Regions from separate parts of the Homo sapiens genome. Here region 2 is linked to region 1. Evidence: promoter capture Hi-C in 16 types of primary human blood cells and fetal thymus (Javierre and others, 2016). All regions are on one chromosome and are shown on one strand. The core of a region is centred on a gene start or on the middle of the fragment in contact, and the rest is flanking DNA. Distances in the headings are between cores, read along the strand shown.

Evidence for each region. The method cuts DNA at HindIII sites, captures the fragments that hold promoters and counts their contacts. A CHiCAGO score of 5 or more calls a contact.
Region 2: a fragment that was not itself captured here is called in contact with the fragment with the promoter of DESI1 in region 1 in 1 of 17 cell types (non-activated CD4 T cells); the score reaches 5.9 in non-activated CD4 T cells.

What each region holds. Positions count from the first base shown.
Region 1 is chr22:41,618,575-41,624,846 of GRCh38, reverse strand. DESI1 (desumoylating isopeptidase 1) reads left to right here and starts at 3,804. Exons shown (of 6, transcript NM_015704.3): 1 at 3,804-4,095. The coding sequence starts at 4,008. It overlaps XRCC6 (X-ray repair cross complementing 6), which reads right to left and starts at 3,552. Exons shown (of 13, transcript NM_001469.5): 1 at 3,502-3,552; 2 at 2,761-2,857. The coding sequence starts at 2,842. RefSeq lists a silencer at 3,784-4,053 and enhancers at 3,785-4,386, 5,659-5,718, 5,729-5,798. The HindIII fragment of the contact is 2,045 bases long and covers 2,948-4,992 here.
Region 2 is chr22:40,853,856-40,859,625 of GRCh38, reverse strand. XPNPEP3 (X-prolyl aminopeptidase 3) reads right to left here and starts at 2,478. Exons shown (of 10, transcript NM_022098.4): 1 at 2,381-2,478. The coding sequence starts at 2,444. ST13 (ST13 Hsp70 interacting protein) reads left to right here and starts at 2,987. Exons shown (of 12, transcript NM_003932.5): 1 at 2,987-3,195. The coding sequence starts at 3,086. It overlaps DNAJB7 (DnaJ heat shock protein family (Hsp40) member B7), which reads left to right. Exons shown (of 1, transcript NM_145174.2): 1 at 1-77. RefSeq lists enhancers at 2,173-2,632, 2,643-2,862, 2,490-3,259. The HindIII fragment of the contact is 725 bases long and covers 1,107-1,831 here.

The sequences.
Region 1 (6,272 bases), core at 2,555-5,054:
TTTTTGTATTTTTAGTAGACACAGGGTTTCACCGTGTTTGCCAGGATGGTCTCGATGTCCTGACCTCGTGAGCCACCCGCCTCGGCCTCTCAAAGTGCTGGGATTACAGGTGTGAGCCACCGCGCCCGGCCTTATTTTTTATTTTATTATTATTTTTTTGAGACAGAGTCTCACTCTGTCGCCCAGGCTGGAGTGCAGTGATGCAATCTCAGCTCACTGCAAGCTCTGCCTCCCGGGTTCACGCCATTCTCCTGCCTCAGCCTCCAGAGTAGCTGGGACTACAGGCGCCTGCCACCACGCCTGGCTAATTTTTTGTATTTTTTTAGTAGAGACGGGGTTTCACCATGTTAGTCAGGATGGTCTCTATCTCCCGACCTTGTGATCCACCTGCCTCGGCCTCCCAAAGTACTGGGATTATAGAGGTGAGCCACCGCGCCCGGCCCCTATTTTATTTTTTTTGAGATAGAGTTTCACTCTGTTGCCCAGACTGGAGTGCAGTGTTGCAATCTCAGCTCACTGTAGCCTCTGCCTCCCCGGTTCAAGCAATTCTCGTGCCTCAGCCTCCCAAGCAGCTGAGACTACAAGTGCATGCCACCACAGACTCAGCTAACTTTTGTATTTTTTAGTAGAGATGGGGTTTTGCCATGTTGGCCAGGGTGGTCTCGAACTCCTGACCTCAAGTGATCTGCCCGCCTCAGCCTCCCAAAGTGTTGGGATTACAGGCGTGAGCCACCACACCCAGACAAATTACAGTATATTTATTGAGATTACAAGTGTGAGCCACCACACCCGGCCAAATTATGGTATATTTAAAATGAGCTATAGGCCACGCACAGTGGCTCACACCTGTAATTCCAGCACTTTGGGAGGCCGAGGTGGGTGAATCACCTAAGGCCAGGAGTTCAAGACCAGCCTGGCCAACATGGTGAAACACTGCCTCTACTAAAAATACAAAAATTAGCCGAGTGTGGTGGCGCACACGCCTGTCATCCCAGCTGCTTGGGAGGCTGAGATGGGAGAATAGCCTGAACTGGGGTGGCGGAGGTTGCAGTGAACCGAGATTGAGTCAGTGCACTCCAGCCTGGGCGACAGAGCAAGACTCTGTCTCAATAAATAAATAAATGTATATGCACTATCGTTACAATACAAGAAATCAGATAGGCCAGGCGCAGTGGCTCACACTTGTAATCCCAGCACTTTGGGATGCTGAGTAGGGCGGATCACAAGGTCAGGAGATCAAGACCATCCTGGCTAACACAGTGAAACCCCGTCTCTACTAAAAATACAAAAAACTGGCCGGGCGTGGTGGTGGGCGCCTATGGTCCCAGCTACTCGGGAGGCTGAGGCAGGAGAATGGCATGAACCCGGGAGGCGGAGCTTGCAGTGAGCCAAGATCGCGCCACTGCACTCCAGCCTGGGCGACAGAGCAAGACTGTCTCCAAAAAAAAAGAAAAAGAAATCAGATACAGTCTGGGCATGGAGGCTCATGACTATAAACCTAGAACTTTGGGAGGCCAAGGCTTGGGGGTATCGCTTGAGGCCAAGAGTTTGAGACCAGCCTGATCAACATAGCAAGATCCTGTCTCTACAAAAAATTAAGAAATTATTGGGAGTTGGCGGCACTTGTAGTCCCAGCTACTGAGGTAGCTGAAGCAGGAGGATCACTTGAGCCCGGGAGTTTGAGGTTACAGTGAGCTACGATGATCTCACCACTGCACTCCAGCCTGTCTCTATTAAAAAATTAAAAAATATATATATTTCATTAGGAAATAAATATTGAAAGATACTTGAAAGAAAAATACAAAAATGTCAAAATGCTGGTAGTGGTTGTGTTAGAGTGGTAGATTATAGCAAATTTTTTTCTTTTTTGTATTTCCTATGTTTCTCACTTTTTTTTTTTTCCTGAGAGAGTCTCATTCTGTCACCCAGGCTGGAATGCAGTGGCGCCATCTCGGCTCACTGCAAGCTCCACCTCCCAGGTTCGCACCATTCTCCTGCCTCAGCCTCCCGAGCAGCTGGGACTACAGGCGACCGCCACCACGCCCGGCTAATTTTTTGTATTTTTTTTTTAGTACAGACGGGGTTTCACCGTGTTAACCAGGATGGTCTTGATCTCCTGACATCGTGATCCGCCCGCCTCGGCCTCCCAAAGTGCTGGGATTACAGGCTTGAGACACCGCGCCTGGCCGTTTCTCATTTTTAATAAAAATATTCAAAATTTTTCTGCTCAGGAGTTAAATTAACCAGTATGAAGATTACATGTACCCCTATTTCTCTTCCTTTGTTTTATGTGTTACTGTGTTGCCTGCACATACACTCCCAAACGTGGAGGCTATAGTGAGGGAATCAATCACTTTCCTGTAACTGTGTTGCTTGCGTTTATTCTTTGGTTGGTGTAGTTATTGCAGGGTGGGGGCATTTTTACACTGAGGTCCTGGAATGGTAACACTACTTTCCTGGATGAGAAGGGTCTCACCTGAACCACTTAAGATGACAAAAAATACCTATGGTCATGGCCATTTATCAGGGACCAAAAGATGTCAAACTACCAGTGTCCAAAAAAAACTTAGGGCACACTAGAGTAAGATCTGCATATAAGAGCCTAGGGTAGCTCTGCGAAGTTCAAAGGAAGAAAAGAATTTCAGAATTATCTGGGAGGAGAAGGGCAGGCCATCAAACAGCAAAGTCCATCCAGCAGAGATAGGCAGGGAAGGTCTTTCTTCCACACACCGAATGGCACTACATGCTGAAGTCACTTACCACTTGCTTCAAGGTTCTCTTCTTGTTCTTCCTCTGCTTCTTCATCGCCCTCGGTTTTGTAATATGACTCCCACCCTGACATGTTGGCTACTGCTCACTAGGCGAAAGACGTTAACGTCAGTAACAGGCAAATTTAAATCGAAAAAATACCGACCTCTAGGTTCTTGTGAGATCTGTTCTAAAAGCTTGGTTAGTAGTGAGGAATGTGGACGGTAAATCCTGCTGCCTCGAAAGCTCGGCAGTCGGACTGCATGTAAATGCGCATGGGGGCCATCCCAGTAGCTGCCTCATCTCAGCTATCCCTCACGTTTCAGGGCCGGCGGCGGCCCGCGGAAGCCAGATCCCGGAGGTCCCGCCCCCGACGCCATTTAGACGGTGAGGGATTCCCGCTCCAGGATTCTATGCTGACTAACGGACCCCCTCGTCCTCAATACCGCCCAAAAACCTCCCCAAATTCCTCAATCACGCCCAATGAGATCTCAAACGCAGACAGGCCTCAAGCGCAGGCGGGCCGCAAGCGCAGGCGGGCCTCAAACGCAGGCGGGCCTCAAACGCGAGGTGCCGCCTCCTTCCCGAGGAAGGAGCGTGGTCTCGAGTCTGTCGCTGCTCCTCGGATTCGCACACTTAAGGCTAACGCTAACCCTCTAGCAAGGCTATGGGGGCGCGCGAGACCGACCGAGCGAAGCGGGACGAGGCCAGGCCTAGCTGGCGAACAACACAAATGGATAACGGCCCGCTTACCTTTGGCGCAGGGAAGCGACCAACTTGGACAGAAGACGACAATCCACGCATGCGCGGGCCCTGTACTCGGTCCCAATCAACGCCCTCTACGTCATCACGCATGTGCGCACTATATCGCGTCAGGCTGGCACGCACACTCCCCAACCAGCTTCTACCTATGTCCCTGACGAAAGCCAACCCATCAGCGAGAGCCCCGCCCCCTTCGGCAAAGCCCCGCCCCTTCCTACGTCAGGACTGTAAGCACATGCGCAAAAGTGCATCCCTGCCCCCGCCCCCTCTTCCGTGTGGGCCCTCCCTGTCCCCTCTCTGTCACCTCACAGTAGTCGTTGCCGGTAGCGGGTGTGGGGGCGCGAGCAGCGCAGGGCGGCCTCTCCCCCACCCCTCAGCCCGGGCCCGGGCTCGGTCCCCCCCTCTCCCTCCGCTTCGCACTCCCGTCGGGTACGGGAAGGTCCAAGCCGCTGCCGGGTGCCCGAGGGCCGTCGTGGCCGCCGTCGCCACGGGTCCCAATGGAGCCGCCGAATCTCTATCCGGTGAAGCTCTACGTGTACGACCTGTCCAAAGGCCTGGCCCGGCGGCTCAGCCCCATCATGCTGGGTGAGGGGGAAGGGGCCAGGTGGGCAGGAGGGCGGGAGCCAGGCCAGAGGGTGGCGGCTGGCCGAGGTGGGGAGACTTGGGCCACGACTCACGGGGAGACACATGGCCAGGAGGATGGAAGAAAAGCCGAGTGGAGAAGAGAGTGGTCTGAAGTTTGGGCCATCTGAGCCCCGCTTTAGCCTCGCAGATACCATCCTCACGTTTGAATTCAAGGGGAAGGGATGGAGGAGTCATGCCTCCACCTTGCAGGGGGCTTGGGCAGAAACCGAGCCCTCGAGAGCCCCTTCGACGAGGGTGTGGGGTAAACCAGCGCTGGATCCCGGCGGGTTCTCTGCCTCGCTCGGGTAGCCCAGTGCACTCCTGCCTCCTTGGCGCGGTGTAGGAAAGGTGAGGATGCCTGCCGCGCGGTGCCCCTCGTGGTGACAGAGACACTGCGGAGGTCGGGTGGCTCTCGGAGAACCTTGTCTCAGTGCCAAAAGGAAGCTCCCTTTGCAGTCCCAGGGATAGGTGGGATGGGGGAGATAGAGCTGCCTAGGGACCCAGCCATCGCCCCCAGGTAGGTCAAGTCAGGATAAGAGGAGCCCCGAACTCCAGAATTCACCAAGCAGTCTTCTCCCCACAGTTTCTAAGTTAATTGCTTTTGCTCAAATGGCAAGAAAGCAGTTTTGGGGGAAGTTTGGATGAGGCTGTGTGAATAAGGATTAGTAAAGAAAGTATTTCGGTTGTGCTCCATTAAACTACTTAACTGGCAGGAGAAAAACCAGCCCTCATTCAGTGACGATCACACCTTATTTCAACTTAAATACAGGAATGTCTTGTGTAACACAGGAATTGTCAGGTTTGTAATTTCGGGTAACAATGAGCAGGAAAGAATTCCAATTATTGAAAATTGAAGCTTTGACAGCATCCATTTGAATGGCTAGTTTTTCCTGGCTTCTGTGGAGACACTGGCGAATGATTTAGTTCATCTCTGTGAGACGAGGGGGCAGAGATCAAGTAAGGGAGGCTACTTTTGAGGGCATCCTTCAATGTCCTTGAGTTTCTAATATGTCGTAGTGAATTGAACTTAATCTCACAACCGTGGGTCCATGAGTTGTTTCTATATTTGGCTTCACATCAAAATCATCTAGGGTGCTTGTTAAAAATGCAGATACCCTCATTTCCAACATATATTGTAAATGAGATTAGAAAAAACAAGGTTAGAATAGCTCTTTAAATATGCAAATCAAAGGATATATATGTGCTTGCTTAGGCAAATAATTATCCGTAAGGATACACAAGAAATTGATAACAGCAGTAGCTTATGGAAAGGGGAACTTGATGCCAGGGGAACAGGGGTAGAAGAGAAACTTTGCTGTAAACTGTTTCTTACCTCTGGACCTGTGTATTACATACACATAATATCTATTTAAAATGAGAAAATTTTAATTATATGGATTCTAAGGCTTCACAAATACTAAATCAGAATCTCCTGGAGTTTTGGTCCAAAAATCTGTATTTTTAATGAGCTTATCAGCTAATTCTTATGTAGCCAACCCATTATTTGACAGGGATTTGGGCCTAGATAACCAGTTGTTAAAATGATTGAGGCACATCTGAAAGCAAAACTTACAAAGTCACTGAGGAAGCTGTTACTCATTAATAGATTACATCAGTCAAGTGTTTTTTTTTTGTTGGTTTTTTTTTTTGAGACGGAGTCTCGCTCTGTCACCCATGCTGGAGTGCAGTGGCACGATCTAGGCTCACTGCAAGCTCCGCCTCCCGGGTTCACGCCATTCTCCTGCCTCAGCCTCCCGAGTAGCTGGGACTACAGGCGCCCGCCACCACAGCCGGCTAATTTTTTGTATTTTTAGTATAGACGGGGTTTCACTGTGTTAGCCAGGATGGTCTCGATCTCCTCACCTTGTGATCCGCCTGCCTTGGCCTCCCAACGTGCTGGGATTACAGGCGTCAGCCACCATGCCCAGCCCACATCAGTCAAGTTTTAACTAAACTTCTTGGAATGGAGCCATTTAGTTGTTTGTTTTTTTATCATAGTGAGGAATCAGATATTTCCTATACCCCACGTAAAACCTCCCCCTTTACACTGGGTATTTTTTATCCTATTACCTAATAATTATTGGGCAGCTGAAAGGAGCCTTAGGAGTCATTATTTCATTCATTCAGCAGATGTTTAT
Region 2 (5,770 bases), core at 220-2,719, 760 kb after region 1:
TAGAAGAGACTGCGGACAATTAGTATTCAAAGTTTATTTTCAGAAAATAAAATAATAAAAGCCCAGGGTATTTTAAATGCTTCTAATATAAGATGTGATATTTAGTAGAGTTTATCTGTTATCATGCATGTGGTAGTAAAGTTGAAAAAAAAATTGCAATTTTCCAAAAACTAAAGCAAAAATCAGTGTCTCAGAAAATTTAAGAATGTAATGACATGCCCTGTAGTCCATTTCTTCACTCTTAACAGAAAACCAAAAATTTAGATTTAATCATCTTACTCAATAGCTTAAAATTCCTCAAAGTTTTCCCACCATCTAAAGGAAAAAGCTAATTGTTTGCTTAACATAATATACAAGGCCCTCCACGAGCCAGCCACCAGCTTTTTTCCCAACTTGATTTCCTATCAGCTCCTTGTACTCATCTTATGCTCTAGCCCAACTTCTCCCAAAATCTGTTCCAGGGATACCAGTTCAAGATTCATCACAGAAAAGGGGTCCATGGTCAAATACATTTTTACACATTTTGCAAATTACTGCGGAACACATCTCTCAGAAACCTAGACTATTAAGGGCTGGGTGCAGTGGCTCACACTTATAATCGCAACACTTTGAGAAGCTGAGGTGAGAGTTCAAGTTTACTTTGGGCAACATGGCAAGACCCCATCTCCAAAAAAAGAATTAAACTATTATGTACATTATGAAAGGCAGCATTCCCCAAAAGTATTTGATCACAGAATCATTTTCGTGTAATGCCTACTATTTTGTTTGAGAACATCTTTCAAAAAATCTTTTCCTAAGCCGGGCGCGGTGGCTCACGCCTGTAATCCCAGCACTTTGGGAGGCCGAGGCGGGTGGATCACGAGGTCAGGGGTTCAAAACCAGCCTGGCCAAGATGGTGAAACCCCATCTCTACTAAAAACACATAAATTAGCCAGGCGTGGTGGCGGGCGCCTGTAATCCCAGCTACTCGGGAGGCTGAGACAGGAGAATCGCTTGAACTCGGGAGGTGGAGGTTGCAGTAAGGCAAGAGATCGCGCCACTGCACTCCAGCCTGGGCGACAAGAGCAAGACTCTGTCTCAAAAAAAAAAAAAAAAAAAAAAAAGCTTCTCCAGCCATACTAAACGATTGCAACGCTTAGTGCTGGCCACTCCGTTTTAGAGTTCTGTGCCTTTGCAAGTGTTCCTTCTGGTAGTATGGCTCCTTTAGTCAGGCTGGGGAGAGCCTTTCAAATAAAAGCAAATTCCAGGCCTGGGGCGGTGGCTCAGAGAGGAGGGTGGATCGCTTGAGGCCAGGAGTTCGAGATCAGCTTGGCCAACGTGGCAAAACCTGGTTTCTACTACAATTACAAAAATTAGCCAGGCGTGGTGGCACACGCCTATAATCCCAGCTACCTCGGGAGGCTGAGGCACGAGAATTGCTTGAACTCAGGAGGCAGAGGTTGCAAATGAGCAGAGATTGCCACTGCACTCCAGTCTGAGCAACAGAATGAGAGCCTGTCTCAAAAAAAGACTGAAAAATTGCACATCTTTCTTTTCACCTAATCCCACGGAGAGTTGTCTTTCTGCAGCTTTACTATGAGAACTGAAGAACAAGTTCTGTGCACTGGACAATAACTTTTTATTTTTTATAGTAAGAAGTCGATGTAATTAACATTCCATTTTAAATGAATTCAAGTATATCAACATAAACATATGCCAAGACATAGCTTTGATGTCAAATACCATACGTTCTGGTTCACACATTGTTCATATATTGACCCAAAAAACTGAAATACGATCCAATGGCAGATCCGCCTGCAAGGAAGGTGATTCAGTTTTCACTGATTAAGCTTTATGTTCATCAGATTAATTGCTCGCAATAGAGGACACCCTACAAAAAATTATTCTCCTTATCCTTCGTCTTGTCTTTGCAAACAGGACTTTCAGACACAGAACGCCCCAGAAGTATTTCGAAACAGTTACCTCTCCTAAGAGGAGCTGCTGAAAGAATTTGTTACTAAACATGCTTCGTGTATATTCTGGAGCAAGCTCTCACGCCTAACAGAAACAAGAGCTACTTGATGTGAGACACTTTGTCACTTAAGTGTGATAATTGCCACAACTTCGGAGTCCGAGTAACTTGGAAGACAGCCCCTCTGGGGGATGGCACACTTTTCTCTCTGCAGTCATTTCGGCTTCACAAAATACCTCAACGGTAGAGAACACACTGGGCCCACCCCTTTCCAGGAGCAGCCGGTATAGAAGAAATCCGCGGAGCACAGAGGGTTGGGGAGCGGAGGCCCCACCAGGAGAAGGGTCAGCCGAACCAGGGATCGCCTGAGACCAACTTGGGTCCCTCCAGGGGACACCATGGGAGGAGACCGTGGGAGAAGAGTCTAACCTGAGAGGCCGCGGACGTTTGCTACAGCGGGAACCAGCTTGGGGGCTGAGAGCAGCCAAGGCATTACGGCCTAACTCACGCGTCGGGAAGAGAAAGAGGGTAACGACGGGGAACGCAACCGCCTGCAGGGCCGCGTCGCCAGGAAACCGGGCCAGCCGCACCTCCCCTTCCGGCGGAGGCGGCTCGCGGGCCTTCCTTGCGCGGCGGCGCAGGTTGTGACGTCATGCCCCGAGCTGGGACCGACCCTCCGGCTCCACGCCCTTTTTTTTTTTTTTTTTTAGGTCCCGGGCGTTGAGCTCTACTCAGTGCACGCAGCCACACAATATGCTCTTGGACGTCGCCCCCTGGAGGGGATGTTATCTCCCGCCTCCTTGAAGTCGCCCATTTCTGGGGTTGCCCCATCCAGGGAGCTGGTTCCTAGTTAAGAATATGAGAATGTATGCGCAGGGAGGCAGGCAACAGCACGAACAGCCACGCTTCTAGAAGATTCTAGGGAGCGCGCAGGAGCAGCGCAGAGGGAGTAGGAATGAGCAGGCGGAGGACCCGAGGTCACGAGACCGTTGGGTGGGAGGAGCCAGCGGCCGGGGAGGTTCTAGTCTGTTCTGTCTTGCGGCAGCCGCCCCCTTCTGCGCGGTCACGCCGAGCCAGCGCCTGGGCCTGGAACCGGGCCGTAGCCCCCCCAGTTTCGCCCACCACCTCCCTACCATGGACCCCCGCAAAGTGAACGAGCTTCGGGCCTTTGTGAAAATGTGTAAGCAGGATCCGAGCGTTCTGCACACCGAGGAAATGCGCTTCCTGAGGGAGTGGGTGGAGAGGTGAGACCCAGGCCTGAGGACCGTTGGGGGCGGGGGAAGCACGGCCCCAGGGGGGAGCCAGGCTGGACCTGGCTCGGTCCGGCGGGCGAGGCGGGGTCGCTGCCCCTTCTTTGCCCGGGAAAGGGAGGCAACTTCGAGGGGTCATGGAAGATCGCGAGCCTTGGGTAGTACAGGAGCCGCGGGGAGCAGGAGGCAGAGCTGGGTTCCTCGCACCCTGAGGTTGCCCAGGGGTGTATCTTGGGCGAAATACAAAAACAGGACTGCGGATGCGTGGACACTGGAGACGCGAGGAGTGAAAACTGCAAGACTTAGATTTTGCGTGGGGTTGTTTTTCTTTCAGTCTTGTGTGCCCTGCTCAGGTCTCATTGGTACATAGCAGTTCCTTTACGCACTATTCCTTTACGTCGTGTTATAATAATATAACACTAGTAAGTTAAAAGTTACAAAACTAGTAAGAATAAAAATGATAACTGTAAAAATGATTGTTTTTACCTTACAGCGTTTGTAGCTGCGTAGGATTAATTATCTTGAGAATCACTTATTATACCTCCGTTACTTGGCAGTGTTATCACTCCAAACACGTCTGAGAAAAATAATTTCTTAAGGCCTGGCATGTTTCCAGGATATAATCTTGTTGTCTTTAACTGTAGAGTACTTCGCTACGTGCAAGGAGTTAATTGACAAGGCATTGTGCCTGGTGCTAGGAAACAGTATAAGTACTGTCTATTTAGACGAATAAATAGAAAAGTTCGTTTTGATATTTACTATATAATAGTAATTAGCATTTTATGTGTTGAAGGAGCACCGAAGAGAAAAAGTGACAGGGAAGTCTTCCCTAAGATGACTTTTTAAAAAATTATTACTAATGGGGAACTGAAAAGATGACATACAAATTGCACTAAACAGGGATAAATAGCAACTATGCAGACCATTGCGACTCCTAAGAGGTGCTGCTGTGAACGTTATGTGTTTAGTGACTTTTGTCTTTTAGAGACAGGGTTTGGCTGTATTGTCCAGGCCGCATACAGTGGCGGGATCACTGCAGCCTCCAATTCCTGGGCACAAGCGATCCTCCTGCATCAGTCTCCCAGGTGGCTAGCAGTGCGGGATCGAGCCACCATACTTGGCTAATTTAATTTTTTTGTAGAGATGGGGGTCCCATTAAGTTGCCCAGGCTTGTCTTGAACTCCTGGCCTCAAGGGACTCCCCCGCCTCCCAAAGTGGTGGTATTACAGGCGTGAGCCACTTCACCCAGCGTGATATTTTTGTGTGGGAAGATGAGCTCATGATTACCAAATAGCTCAAAGAATATTTCTTAACAACAATCTGGTTCTAAGGAAAAAACTCGTTACAATCTGTCAGCGTTGTATGTTGTATTTTTTTCCTCTAAGAAGTTTTTCAATTTTTAGCTCCCCACCAATTGTCTAACTACTGGAAGACTTACTTATATGTGAAATTCTGAGACCATTTAATATTACTATGTTAATAGTAACTTTATGAATATTGGTAAGAAGTCTATTTTGCAAACTCCTCAACCGGGAAATGTCAGGATTAGGAATTGAGGGCTAGGTTTTAGTCGTTTTCTCTATTGAACAGCTTGATGATCCAAAAGCCTTAAGATATTTGTATGCTTTTATCCTAATTATAGGAAAGAACCTGCAGTTAATAAATTCTTTCTAAAATTCCAGGTAACGTAGACAAGTATCACAGGAAGAAAATAGCCGGCTCCAAGAGCTGGCTCCACTTTACATTAAGTGGATACAATGTTTTTGTTTCATTCTTACTAGTGAGGAAGAGGAGACACAGAAGAACAAATTAAAAGCATGTGTAAGAACAGTGTCCTCCTGACTTGTGCTGGAGTGATTGTGCCTATGTAGAGAATTCCACTTTAAGGTTTGCAAAATATTTGTCAGGCACTACTATCTCCCAAACAAAAACAAGAAATAGTCATATACCTTATTTTAACATAGGTAATTCCAGTTTTTCTTTCTGATTCCACTTACATTCTTTAGCCATCCTGAGTTGGCTGAAGTATGGGGTGAAGCATCATGGCATATGTAGGGACTTTATTCTGAACTTAAATTGAGATATTTAATATAGAAGCTTTTTCTCTTTATTTCTGTATTTAAACTAAGATTTTTATAAACTCTGAGGCCTTTGCGTTTGTGTCAGTTTCTCTCTCTGCCTTCATCAGTCTGCAGTTCGAGATTGTGGCAGATGGGGCTGAATGTGGAGACTTCTAGGTCCAGACGTCTTCCTAGGCCTGATGCTACTGTTAGGGTTACTCAAGTTGAAAACATGTGTTTCTCACAGGCTTAGCTGTTGAAGAACAGTACATCTGCCTATTTGCTATAATTGCTAGCATTGTTTATAGCTTAGTTTTATTTGATATAAGGATTTATTAGTTTAACCTTTTAAATTGCACAAAGAGAAATACTAAAAGTCTTTCTGAACTAGTTGTCAGTGAGGATCCAGGAGACTGTTCTTTTCAAGAACTGTGTTTTGAGATATTTTTGTTTTTCCCTTTTTAGAGACAGAAGCATTCTCCCACTCTATTTTCTCCCGTTTAACAATT